Linked DNA regions of Homo sapiens: region 2 is linked to region 1. The links are contacts of gene promoters, found by promoter capture Hi-C in human tissues and cell types (Jung and others, 2019). All regions are on one chromosome and are shown on one strand. The core of a region is centred on a gene start or on the middle of the fragment in contact, and the rest is flanking DNA. Distances in the headings are between cores, read along the strand shown. Region 1 holds the start of CHAD (chondroadherin). Region 2 holds the start of SGCA (sarcoglycan alpha).

What was found. Contacts are between HindIII fragments. The study calls those that stand out against the background at their distance.
Region 2: the fragment with the promoter of SGCA here is called in contact with the fragment with the promoter of CHAD in region 1 in 1 of the 25 tissues and cell types used here (IMR-90 fibroblasts).

Annotation. Positions count from the first base shown.
Region 1 is chr17:50,466,687-50,472,133 of GRCh38, reverse strand. It overlaps CHAD (chondroadherin), which reads left to right and starts at 3,254. Exons shown (of 4, transcript NM_001267.3): 1 at 3,254-4,094. The coding sequence starts at 3,321. ACSF2 (acyl-CoA synthetase family member 2) reads right to left here. Exons shown (of 16, transcript NM_025149.6): 11 at 999-1,106. RefSeq lists enhancers at 2,381-3,338, 3,339-4,297. The HindIII fragment of the contact is 15,801 bases long and covers 80-5,447 here.
Region 2 is chr17:50,161,853-50,167,257 of GRCh38, reverse strand. It overlaps SGCA (sarcoglycan alpha), which reads right to left and starts at 1,253. Exons shown (of 10, transcript NM_000023.4): 1 at 1,181-1,253. The coding sequence starts at 1,217. It overlaps LOC105371818 (a long non-coding RNA gene), which reads left to right and starts at 901. Exons shown (of 4, transcript XR_934833.3): 1 at 901-1,240; 2 at 1,779-2,047. RefSeq lists an enhancer at 3,159-3,659. The HindIII fragment of the contact is 20,868 bases long and covers 1-5,405 here.

The DNA of each region.
Region 1 (5,447 bases), core at 2,005-4,504:
AGCCAGCTGAAGAATTATAAACCGTGCAGAGGAGAAGGGAGTCTCCTCTTACTTCCCATTAAGCAGCAAATAAGCCAAACAGGGTGGCATGGCAACACCATGTGAACAGGAGAGACAGAGTCTGAAAGCCTGGTAGAGAAAAGAGCCACGGCCACCGTGCCAAGGAAAGCTGAGCCTCTGTGTGCCTCAGTGTCTGTGTCCGTGAAATGGGGTGAGTGATGCCTGCCCCTGTTTCCCTTCCAGGTGGGCATCTTAGTGACAGTGGCAGTGCAGCTGTAGCACACACGGGAGGAGGCTCACATCCCTACTCAATCCCTGGGTACATGGTTGCTCTGGCGGGAGGGCAGGGCAGATTCACGCCAGGACAGCGGTCAGCCCCAGGGGAAGCAGCTGCTTGTGCACGGGGGCAGCGATCCCCCAGGGGCGGGAGCAGAAGGGTGCAGGGGAAATCAGGAGCCAGCTGGCACAGCCCCAGTGTTGGAGCAGGAAAGGAGGCATGGCTGGGCATTTGAGATTCAGGTGCACTCTGGGGCAACCTTTGAGGGGCAAAGGGACCGCCCCAAAGGGATAGGCTGCTTGGGAAATGAAGTGTTTACGCCAAGCAAGAAGAAGAACTCTGCTAAAGCGAGAGGCGAGCACCACTGGAGGAAAAGAAGCTGTGTAGGAAAACTCTCTGTGCTCTGGCTCCTCTTTGAGGCTACCCTGGCTGCCCTGAAACAGACAGTGGGCTTGGCAAAAACACACCTCAGACAGGAAGGGAGGCCGCGGAGAAGTTCAGCTGGCAGCCGCTCACAGCCACTGTTCCAGCTCTTCCCCTTTCATGCTTAGCCCACAGAGAACACTCCGGGCCAGGCCTAGCACACCCCTGCTGCTGGGGGGCTCTAGGCATCCTGAGTGAGCCATTTGACTCTCTCACTGAAAGCAACCGATGTCCCAGCTGGGTGCACCCCAGCTGGGTGACGGGAGGTGGGACTTTGGAGTCTTGGTCAGGGGCTCACCTCCGTGTGAGGCATAATTCTGCCCACGCTTTCTGCCTTCTGCTCCACAGTGTCCTCAGGGAAGTGCGCGAATGTCACGGGACTGTTCTCTGTGGTTCCATAAGCAACCTAGAGGGTCCAGAAAGGGTGTTTGAAGAGGGCTCAGCACGTGCAGAGGGATCAGGTGAGCTATCTGAGGAAATGGGAAGGAATTCATAAAAGAAAAGGGAAAGTGGAGGGCAGCCGAATGGTGGAAACAGAGACATCATTGGTAGGGGCCTGGGGTCAGGAGGCAGAGGTGCTGGGAGTGAGCAGACTAGATCTCTGCAGGGCCCCAGATCTGAAAGAAAATTGAGAGCAGGGACACCATTCTCTTCCAGCTGGAGCTCTCTCAGTGCCCCGTTTCCCTGGAGCAGCCACCTGTCTGTGCCTGTGGCTCCGGTATTACCAACACCCCACACTTCTCCCCCCATCCCCTGGCTGCCTTAACCCCACCTTCCTGATTTCAGGCCACATCCCCGGCTCCTCCCTTCCAAGCTGAAGGCCCCATAAACTTGATGAGAAAGCCAGCCTGCCTTGGCCCAGCTAGGAGTGGCACAGACACAACCCCACCCCCGCATTCTGCAAACCCTGAACAAGTGCCTGGCCTTGGGGCAGGCGTCCCCCAAGCTCTGGAGAGTTTCCCGTGAATTTATTTCCATCAAAATAAAAAAACAACCTAAGCAGTGATTTTAAAAACCAGTGGTACCCCCACCCCACCTCCCCCATTTCCAGTGGTTGGAAAGCCTGAGCAACAGAAAAACCAGAAGCCAGCCTTGGAGAAGCCTAAATACCATCAAGGAATGGTCTAGGCCAAGTATGACCCTCCTATCCTAGAGGCAAGGGGCAGAGAGGTTTGGGAAAAGGGCAGGCCCTGGAAACCAGGCCCCAACACGAGGGTACTGGGTAAGGGAAGAGAGGCTAGTTACCCCGTATCCTAGGTCCCCTTTAATCAACGGATACCAGATCTCATCCATCCTCCTCCCTGCACCAAGCTTCCCCCATATCAGCTGCTCTGGCTCTGGCACGGCTGGGGTTTGGTTCAATGTGGGTTCTGGTTTCTCCTTCCACCCCTCATCACAGACAATATCCTGTGCCAGGCAGCTTGGAGCTCACCCTGAGGCCAGAGCTGTGACCCTGCCTGCTCACCCTCCCCTTTCCACAGGAATCCGGACATCGTGGCTGGCAAGTGGGCACACAGAAATCTGGCGGGCTGGGGCGGGACTGCCCACAGAACTTAGGGTCTGGCAGCCAGAGCCGTCCAGGGCTGGTCCCTCGACCTGCCCCACCCCCTCCCGCACCCCTCCTCACAGTCCTGGGGCCACCGCCCGAATGTGGCATCTGCCAAGTACACCTCGGCGCCACTCAGCCGCCACCCTGAGACCCCTCAGGGGCGGGTCCTGACCACTAGGGTTGGGGATGAGGGATGGAGATATTTCGGGGCGATGAAGGAGGGGGGATGGTGCGACTGTGCTTGTGGCCTGTGGTTTCCAGGTGTGTTTGCCATTCCTGTGGGCCACTCTCCCCCACTTCCCACTTCTCTGCTTAGCCTTCAGCGGTGGAAAAAGGGGATGAGGGCGCCGGCGACAGAAACGCAAGCGGGGTTGGAAGAGAGGGGTGGGGGCGCGCCCGAGGGTGGGGAAGGAGCTCGGGTCTACCCAGGGCCAGCTTCGGCGCGTCGAGTCTGAAGTGGGAGACCGACGCCGGGGCGGCTCTCACGCTCGGCAGGCGCCGCACAAGCGCCCCTTTAAAGCGCAGGCAGCTGGCCCACCGCAGGGAGACGCATCCAGCTGTCCGGCCCCGCTTCCTCCCGCCTCGCATCCAGGGCACCCGGCCGAGCGTGTGTGGATGGCGCGGCGTGGAGGCTCAAACCTGAGCAAACAAATAAGTTGAGGGAACGCCTCCCTCTCTCCGATGTAAACTCGGGGCTCCAGACATAACTATTCCCCCTTCCCAGAAAAGCCCCGGGAAAGGCGGTAGGCAGAGGAGCACCATAGGAGAGCGGGGGGCTACAGCCGGGGCTCAGGGCTCGGGGCTCGGGGGCCACGGTCCCACCCCCTCATGCACGGTAGCCGGCTGGGGGAACGGCCCCGCCCCCTTCCCCGTGGAGGGCGGGGGCGCATCTCTGGGCGCGAGCGAGTTAAGCCCAGTGGCCTCGATGCTCCACGTAGGAGCTGGCTCGGCTGCCGGCTGCGGTCAGGGCCACCGTATAAAGAGGGCGGCAGACCCGAGCGCCTAGGACTCGCCGCTGCCCGCGCCCCGCCGCCGCTGCTGCCCCCAGCCCCGGCCCCAGGCGTCCCAGCCATGGTCCGCCCAATGCTCTTGCTCAGCCTCGGCCTCCTGGCTGGTCTGCTGCCGGCGCTGGCCGCCTGCCCCCAGAACTGCCACTGCCACAGCGACCTGCAGCACGTCATCTGCGACAAGGTGGGGCTGCAGAAGATCCCCAAGGTGTCAGAGAAGACCAAGCTGCTCAACCTACAGCGCAACAACTTCCCGGTGCTGGCTGCCAATTCGTTCCGGGCCATGCCGAACCTCGTGTCATTGCACCTGCAGCACTGCCAGATCCGCGAGGTGGCCGCCGGTGCCTTCCGCGGCCTCAAGCAACTTATCTACTTGTACCTGTCCCATAACGACATCCGCGTGCTGCGCGCAGGTGCCTTCGACGACCTGACCGAGCTGACCTACCTCTACCTGGACCACAACAAGGTCACTGAGCTGCCCCGGGGGTTGCTCTCCCCGCTGGTCAACCTCTTCATCTTGCAGCTCAACAACAACAAGATCCGTGAGCTGCGCGCAGGCGCCTTCCAGGGAGCCAAGGACCTGCGCTGGCTCTACCTGTCGGAAAACGCGTTGAGCTCCCTGCAGCCCGGGGCCCTGGACGACGTGGAGAACCTCGCCAAATTCCACGTGGACAGGAACCAGCTGTCCAGCTACCCCTCAGCTGCCCTGAGCAAGCTACGGGTGGTGGAGGAGCTGAAGCTGTCCCACAACCCCCTGAAAAGCATCCCGGACAATGCCTTCCAGTCCTTTGGCAGATACCTGGAGACCCTCTGGCTGGACAACACCAACCTGGAGAAGGTGAGCTCCTGGCTGTGGGCTCTGCCCTGGTTCCTTCTTCCCTTCCTGGAGGCCCCAGGAGCCAGGGCCACAGCTGGCACCATCCCCCGTCCCCAGGTTCCCTGTCCCTCTGGCTATCTCCAAGGTGAGCAGCTCTGCCACCTCCCTTCCTCGCCTTGTCACATCCCTACCCTAATCCCTGTCTGCTGCCAGTCTCGACCACTGCCCTCCTAGGATTCTTACATATAAAAGGAGTGGGACTGCCCTGGCCCCACAAAAGGCCCCCTAGGGCCATCTCCAGTGCTTCCAAACCCCCAACTGTGAGCAGCAGCCACCTCTTCCTGTTGGGCCTTCCACCCCTCCTCTGCTGTTTTTCCCGTCTCCAGTAAACCTACCACCCCATAAAGGAAGGTTTGTTTATTGAGGAGCCTTCCAGAGGAGCTGGGCAGATCAGGCCCACAAAGAGACCCTGTTCCTGGTGGGGGCTGTGCATGTGTGCTAAGGGGGAGTGGGGGACTGGGGAGTGAGGGGAAGCAAATGCCTGAGGAAGACATTCTCCATGCCCCATAGAGGCCCTGGTGGATGGCCCTGCCCAATCCACACAGACACAATTCACTGCATTCTCAAGTCCATTGCAGCTCAGTAGGCGTGGGACCAAGGGCTCCCCCAGGATGCAAGCATCGTGCCCATGGGCTCCGTGAAGGGGCAAAGGCAAGACCACTATTGTCAATCCTTGGCCCAAGACCCCAGGTGTCTCTCCACAGAGAAGACTGGCGTGACTCACTGTCTCCAGACTGCTAACTGCCCTTTGCCCTCCTCCGTCACTAGACCCATCTCCTGTCTGCATCCTCACTCATTCCTTTCTCCCCTGGGGTGCCCAGTGTCTGGCCAGGTGGGGCTACCTTGGATCAGAGCAGAATCCCTTCTCTGGGACTGGAAAAATCACCCTGGTACAGGGGCTTCAGCCAGGAGGTTTGGGTGGGGAACCAACAAGGTAGAGGAGAGTCTGGTTACTGGAGACCTTCATACCTCAATGTGGGCCACAGGAAAGGGTGCGGGTGTGGAGATGTGGGCAGAATCTCACTTGGGCAGCAGCCAACCTTTGTCTGGGTGGAAGGAGCCTGCTCAAGCCTGCCCTTCTTCAGCCCTGCCTCTCCCCAGCTGAAGTTGGAGTCCCCTGTGGCCCACCAGTGCCAGAGTGGTCTTTCAGTGGGCAGCAGAGCAGCGAATTAGGGGCTGGTTTGGGGCAGGGGAGGCCAGACAGGAATTGTGGCGCCTGGGCAAAGGTGTGGGCACCAATAGAACATTTCCTCTGGAGCCGTCCAACCTGGCCAAAGGCTCCACCAAGGTGGCTTCACAAATAGCGTCTGGCTG
Region 2 (5,405 bases), core at 4-2,503, 300 kb after region 1:
CTTCCTTTGCTGCCTCCCAGGAAGGGATTGGGGTGGGGATGGGGGAGCAAGCCCTGCTGGGCTAGACATTTTAATCGTCTGGGTTTCGGGATTCGAGGGAGAACCTCTCCCACAACCTTTCCATTCCTTGTTTTAGGCCCCTATTAATGGTGCAGTGGGCAGGGACTGATGTTTGACTGGGAAGTGTGTGTGTGAGGGTGTGTGTGTGTGTGAGGGGATGTGGGGGGGTGTGTGTGTGAAGGTATGTGTGAGGGTCTGTGAGGATGTGTGTGAGGGTGTGTGTGCAAGTGAGTGTGTGTGAGAGGGTGTGTGTGAGGGTGTGTGTGTGTGAAGGTGTGTGTGGGGGGTGTGTGTTTGCGGGGGGTGTGTGGGGGTATGTGGGGGTATGTGGGGGTGTGTGTGGGGGGTGTGTGTGACGGTGTGTGGGGTGTGTGTGTGACGGTGTGTGTGAGGGTGTGTGTGTGAGGGTGTGTGAGGGTGTGTGAGGGTGTGTGTGTGAGGGTGTGTGAGGGTGTGTGAGGGTGTGTGTGAGGGTGTGTGTGTGAGGGTGCCGTGAGGGTGTGTGTGAGGGTGTGTGTGGGTGTGTGTGTGTGTGAGGGTGTGTATGTGTGAAAGGCACTGGGAAAAGAATCCCATGCTAAATGCCCAAGAGCCCAGAGGAGAGGAAGACGGGGCCAGGAGCCTACAGAGGAGGAAGGGTAGCCATTCTGGGCCTGGAGACCCCCACCTTCCTCCCCTAAAATACAGGGAAGAAGAAGGCCTGCCCTAGAGGCCAGTAGGAGCTGAGCAAAAGGAATCCTAAGTCCAAGAGAGGAGCAGAGGACCTGGCCGCCAGCTCCACCCTCCCTCCCAGGGCCAAATTTAGCCTGGGCTTAGAAGCTGCGGCCCAGCCAGCTCATTAAAGGGCCCACGACCCTTTGGGCCTGTGCTGTCAGACCCACCCGGGCCCTAGGACACCTCCAGCCCTCAGAGCTCCCAGCCCCTTCATCCCAGAGCCCAGCTCCCAGCCCCATTCCCTGGATCCCCAGCTGGCCATGGCATTAACACCCCAAAGCCCTTCTGGCGCCTGCCTCACCCAACCCAGATCCCTCTTCTGTGGGCCCTCCACACCTCCGTCTTACCACCCCTAAATCCTGCCCCCTCATCCTGGGCCTCCCCGCTGAACAAGGCCCCAACTTGCCCACGAGGAGAGGAGTCCAGAAGAGTGTCTCAGCCATGGCTGCCCGGCCTGGCCCGCCCGGTGAGTGACAGAGACAGGGGGCAGGGAGGAGAGGAGGGAAGGAGGGAGGTGGCTCGGGGCAGCTGGGTCCCAGCGTCAGCCTCCCCTCCCCGCCTGGAGCATGCACCAAATCTGGGATAGACACCCTCCTCGCACTCATTGTCCCTCCAACCGTCCCCTCCAGTGGCCACAGTGTTTTTTAAACCACCAACCAGGCCACCTCCATCCTCCCTTAAAACTCTAATGGTTCTCATGGCCCCTGAGTTCCCAGCTCATCCCCAGTTGGTGGCTTTCTGGCCTGTCCTGAACCTGGTCAGCTGGTCTAGAATCCCATCCTCTGCCCCTACCCTTCCAACCCCAGGCCCCTGCTCAGCCTCACTCCGCTCCTGCCTAGCTTGGCAGACTCTCTCAAGTCTCCAAGCCGTCGTCCAGGCTATTGCCTCTGCCTGCAGTTCCCTTCCCACCTTCATTCAAGCAGCAACCTTCCAGTCACCTTTCCAGACTCTGCACAGATGTCCTCTCCTCTCTGAAGCCTTTCTGACCTCCCTTCTTCTGCTAGGCCAAGCTGGGTGTCCCCTTAGCCCCTGCGTGCTTTCCTGGGCACAACACAATCACACAGACTGCTCCAAGCTCCTCGAAGACTAGGATCTTGTCACGTTTGTATCCTTGGGCCTGGCACAGGGCCTGGTAACTAGTAGGTGTAGCTGGCTGGCGGCAGCTTCCTTAACAGCAAACGTAGGTGCCATCCACCCAGCCTTTATCCCCAGTCCAAGCACTTCAGCGTGGAGGTCTAGCAAGCCCTGGACAGGACCAGCCAGCTAGAGACAGGTGAGCGGAGGAGGCACCCTCTCTGGCCCATGGAGTCAGGGTTCATTCGGCGCATAGACTTGGAGGCCTGGAGGTGGGCCACCTTGGCCACTTGCTGGGGATGAGGCCTTGAGTGCACCATTTGCCCTCTAGCCCATTTCCACAACTATAAACTGGCAAGAATAGTGCTTGCCTCTTGGCATCATTGTGAGGACTCCACAAAGTAATGAATGCAGCGCATATTTATGAAACACCTGCTATGTATCAGACATTGAAATTGCAAAGATAAGCAAACCTCTGCCCACATGGAGGTCACCTGCCAGTGGGTAATACCAGCTAGCGCTGCCAGCTACTGTGCTGAGAATCTTACATATATCTACCTATATTACCTCATTCCATCTCCTCAGCAGTTCCATGAGGCAGGTATTATTACTGTGCCCATTTAACAGATGATAAAACTGAGGCACAGGGGTGTATACCTTCCCCAAGGCCACATTGCTGATGAGTAGAATGCATGTGGACGGCTTAGCCCAGTGCCTGGCTCAGTCGATGACTGTGCTGCTGATGTACTTGCCCGGCCCTGCTTCCCCTTCCTTCTTGCCTCTGCCAAAGGATCTCAGTCCAGGGGCGATGGGGCGCGGTGTCCTCTCCCCAGGTCTCTCACTTAGGGCAGGCACAGGGGCACTCTCCCCAGGTGCCCTGAGAAGGGGGCGGGGACCTATGGCTGCCAGGGTTCCCAAATCCTTGGTGCCTGTGTGACCTCTCCTCCAGGGCCTCAAAAGGACAACAAAATACCCCAGGCAAGGATCACTTGGGTCCAGCCTAAGGGCACAGGTGTTGGCCTGCAGATGGGGTGACTGGTAGGCAGGTTACGCAGTCCTTGTCCCTTCCTCTCTCTCTCTCCACCTGACTGACCCGCTCATCCCTGGAGAGCCACCAAATTCCAGAGTCAGCGTCCCCTCAGGCAAGGCAGTATTTGTCCCAGCATCACCTGGCCATCTCTCTGTCTTCTCAGAGACAGAGGGAGGGAGGAAGAAAGGTTCTGGAGGCAGAGGAAGAGCCCAAGGGTTCTGGGGGAGCAGGCAGAAGTGCCAACCCCCTGGGCACCTGCCCAGCCTCACCCCTGAGCTTCTCCATGTGACTCCCCGCCCCCTGCCGTCCCCCTGGCTATTTTTGGAGCCACCCACTCAGCTGTCTTAAGGTAGCAGTGCCTGGCCCCAGTGTCACCAGGCCCACAGAGGCCAGCCTTCCTTAATGAAAAGCTGCAGCTACTTCCCCATCAGATCCTCCCTGCCCAATTCAAGGGAGCCAGGGACTGTCCCACAAGCCAGAAAGTCCCCAGAAACCCTTCTCAGGCCCCTCAGCCATCAGAGGACCTTCCCACTCAGAGCTGTCTGGATTGCAACCTGCTGCTTGTAACACACAGCACCTTCTGTCTATTGGGCCTAGGGGTGGGAAGGGAGGTCACAGGGTCTTTAAACTTCTTAGTTTGAAAAATTTGCAGCATACTATAATAAGCCCCCGTGTATCTGTCACCTGGCTTCAACAATTATCAACTCATGGCCAGTCTAGTTTCATCTGTACCCCTCCTGATTAATTTCATCCATCAATATTTCAGTGTGTATCTTTAAATGATAATGACTCTTTTTAACATAATCACATAACACGTTCAGCTATTAACATCATCAATAAAATTCCTTAATATCAAACTTCTAGTGTTCAAATTACCAATTTCTCATAAACATACATATTTTTACAGTGTATTTGTTTGACTCAAGATACAAAGAAGATACACACATTGCAACTGATTGATGATTTATAGGGCTTTTTTTTTTTTTTTTTTTGAGACAGAGTCTCGCTCTGTCACCCGGGTTGGAGTGCAGTGCCATGATCTCGGCTCACTGCCACCTCCACCTCCCAGATTCAAGCAATTCTCCTGCCTCAGCCTACAGGCACGTGCCACCATGCCCAGGGGTTTCACCATGTTGGCCAGGCTGGTCTCAAACTCCTGACCTCAAGTGATCCACCCACCTTGGCCTCACAAAGTGCTGAGATTACGGGCGTGAGCCACTGTGCCTGGCCAAGGCTCTTTTAAATTTCTTCAAATCTATAGGTTCCCATACATCCTTTCTCTCTCTTTTTTCCTTCCTCCCTTCCTTCCTTCCTTCCTTCATACTTTCCTTCCTTTCCTCCCTCCTTCCTTCCTTCCCTCCCTCCCTCCTTCTTCTTCCTTCTCTCCCTCCCTCCCTCCTTCTTCTTCCTTCTCTCCCTCCCTCCCTCCTTTCTTCCTTCCTTCCCTCCCTCCCTCCCTCCTTTCTTCCTTCCTTCCCTCCCTCCCTCTCCTTCCTTCCTTCCTTCCTTCCTTCCCTCCCTCCCTTCTCTTTCTCGTTCCTTGAAGGAGCCAGAAAATTTCTTCTGTAGTTTTTTGCCCTCTGGATTTTGCTGATTGCATCTCTATGGTGATCTTTAACATGTTCCTCCCACCTCCATACTTCCTGTACGTTGTATTTCCTGTACATTGTTACTGTAATTTGTAGTTGGATCTAGAGGCCTTATAAGGTTTATGTTCAATTTCCTTCGTTGAGACCACTTCATAGGTGGTGACAGTGTTCTTCCATTTGAAGGCACATCATGCGTTTCTGTGGTCTTAGTAGTGTCTTGCCTCCGCCATTAGCGTTTTATTTTTTGTGTGTGTGCAGAATAGTGATATTCAGATTTGATCACTCTGATCACCCCTTCCTTTATTAGCTGGAATAATTATAGACAGAAACTGCCCCTTGCGATTTGGTTACTGAGTGGGAAAGTTCGTAAAAGGAAGACGGGAGAAACGCTGGACTCTTCCTGTATTAAACAGTTTCTGAATAAAGAGCTGTTTCCCTAGCATCCTCCAAACTCTGGCCAGTCCGAGCTTCTTTGGTAGTAGTAGAATGATGATACATGGTTTACACCTATCTGACTGCTTCAGTCCATTGCAACTAGGGTCCCTTCTGGTGCTCACATTGCCTATCTTTAGCTCTCCGTTTTGTCATCCCCAGTTGGGGCGTCGGTCAGGAGAGCTGGAGGGGTCGGGGCTCGTACCCCACCTCGCACAGCTGGTGCCCTTGCCGTGCCCTAGGCTCCGCCGGTACTTCCCCGGCCTCCGCCTCACTCCTGCGGCCCAGCCCTGTCCTGAGCTAGTCGCTTCTCTGTCCTGGCCTTTTTGACATCCGCATCCGTCTCTCCAGCTTTCTGCCCCGTCTCTGCCCACCAGTGCCTAAATGTAAGCCCTCTGGTCCTTTGTCCCTGTATCTCCCCATCCCAGTGAATGTTTGCTGAATGAACGAATGACTGCTGTCCAGTGTGTCTCATTCAGCTTCAGTTTCTGTGCACCTGTCTCTAA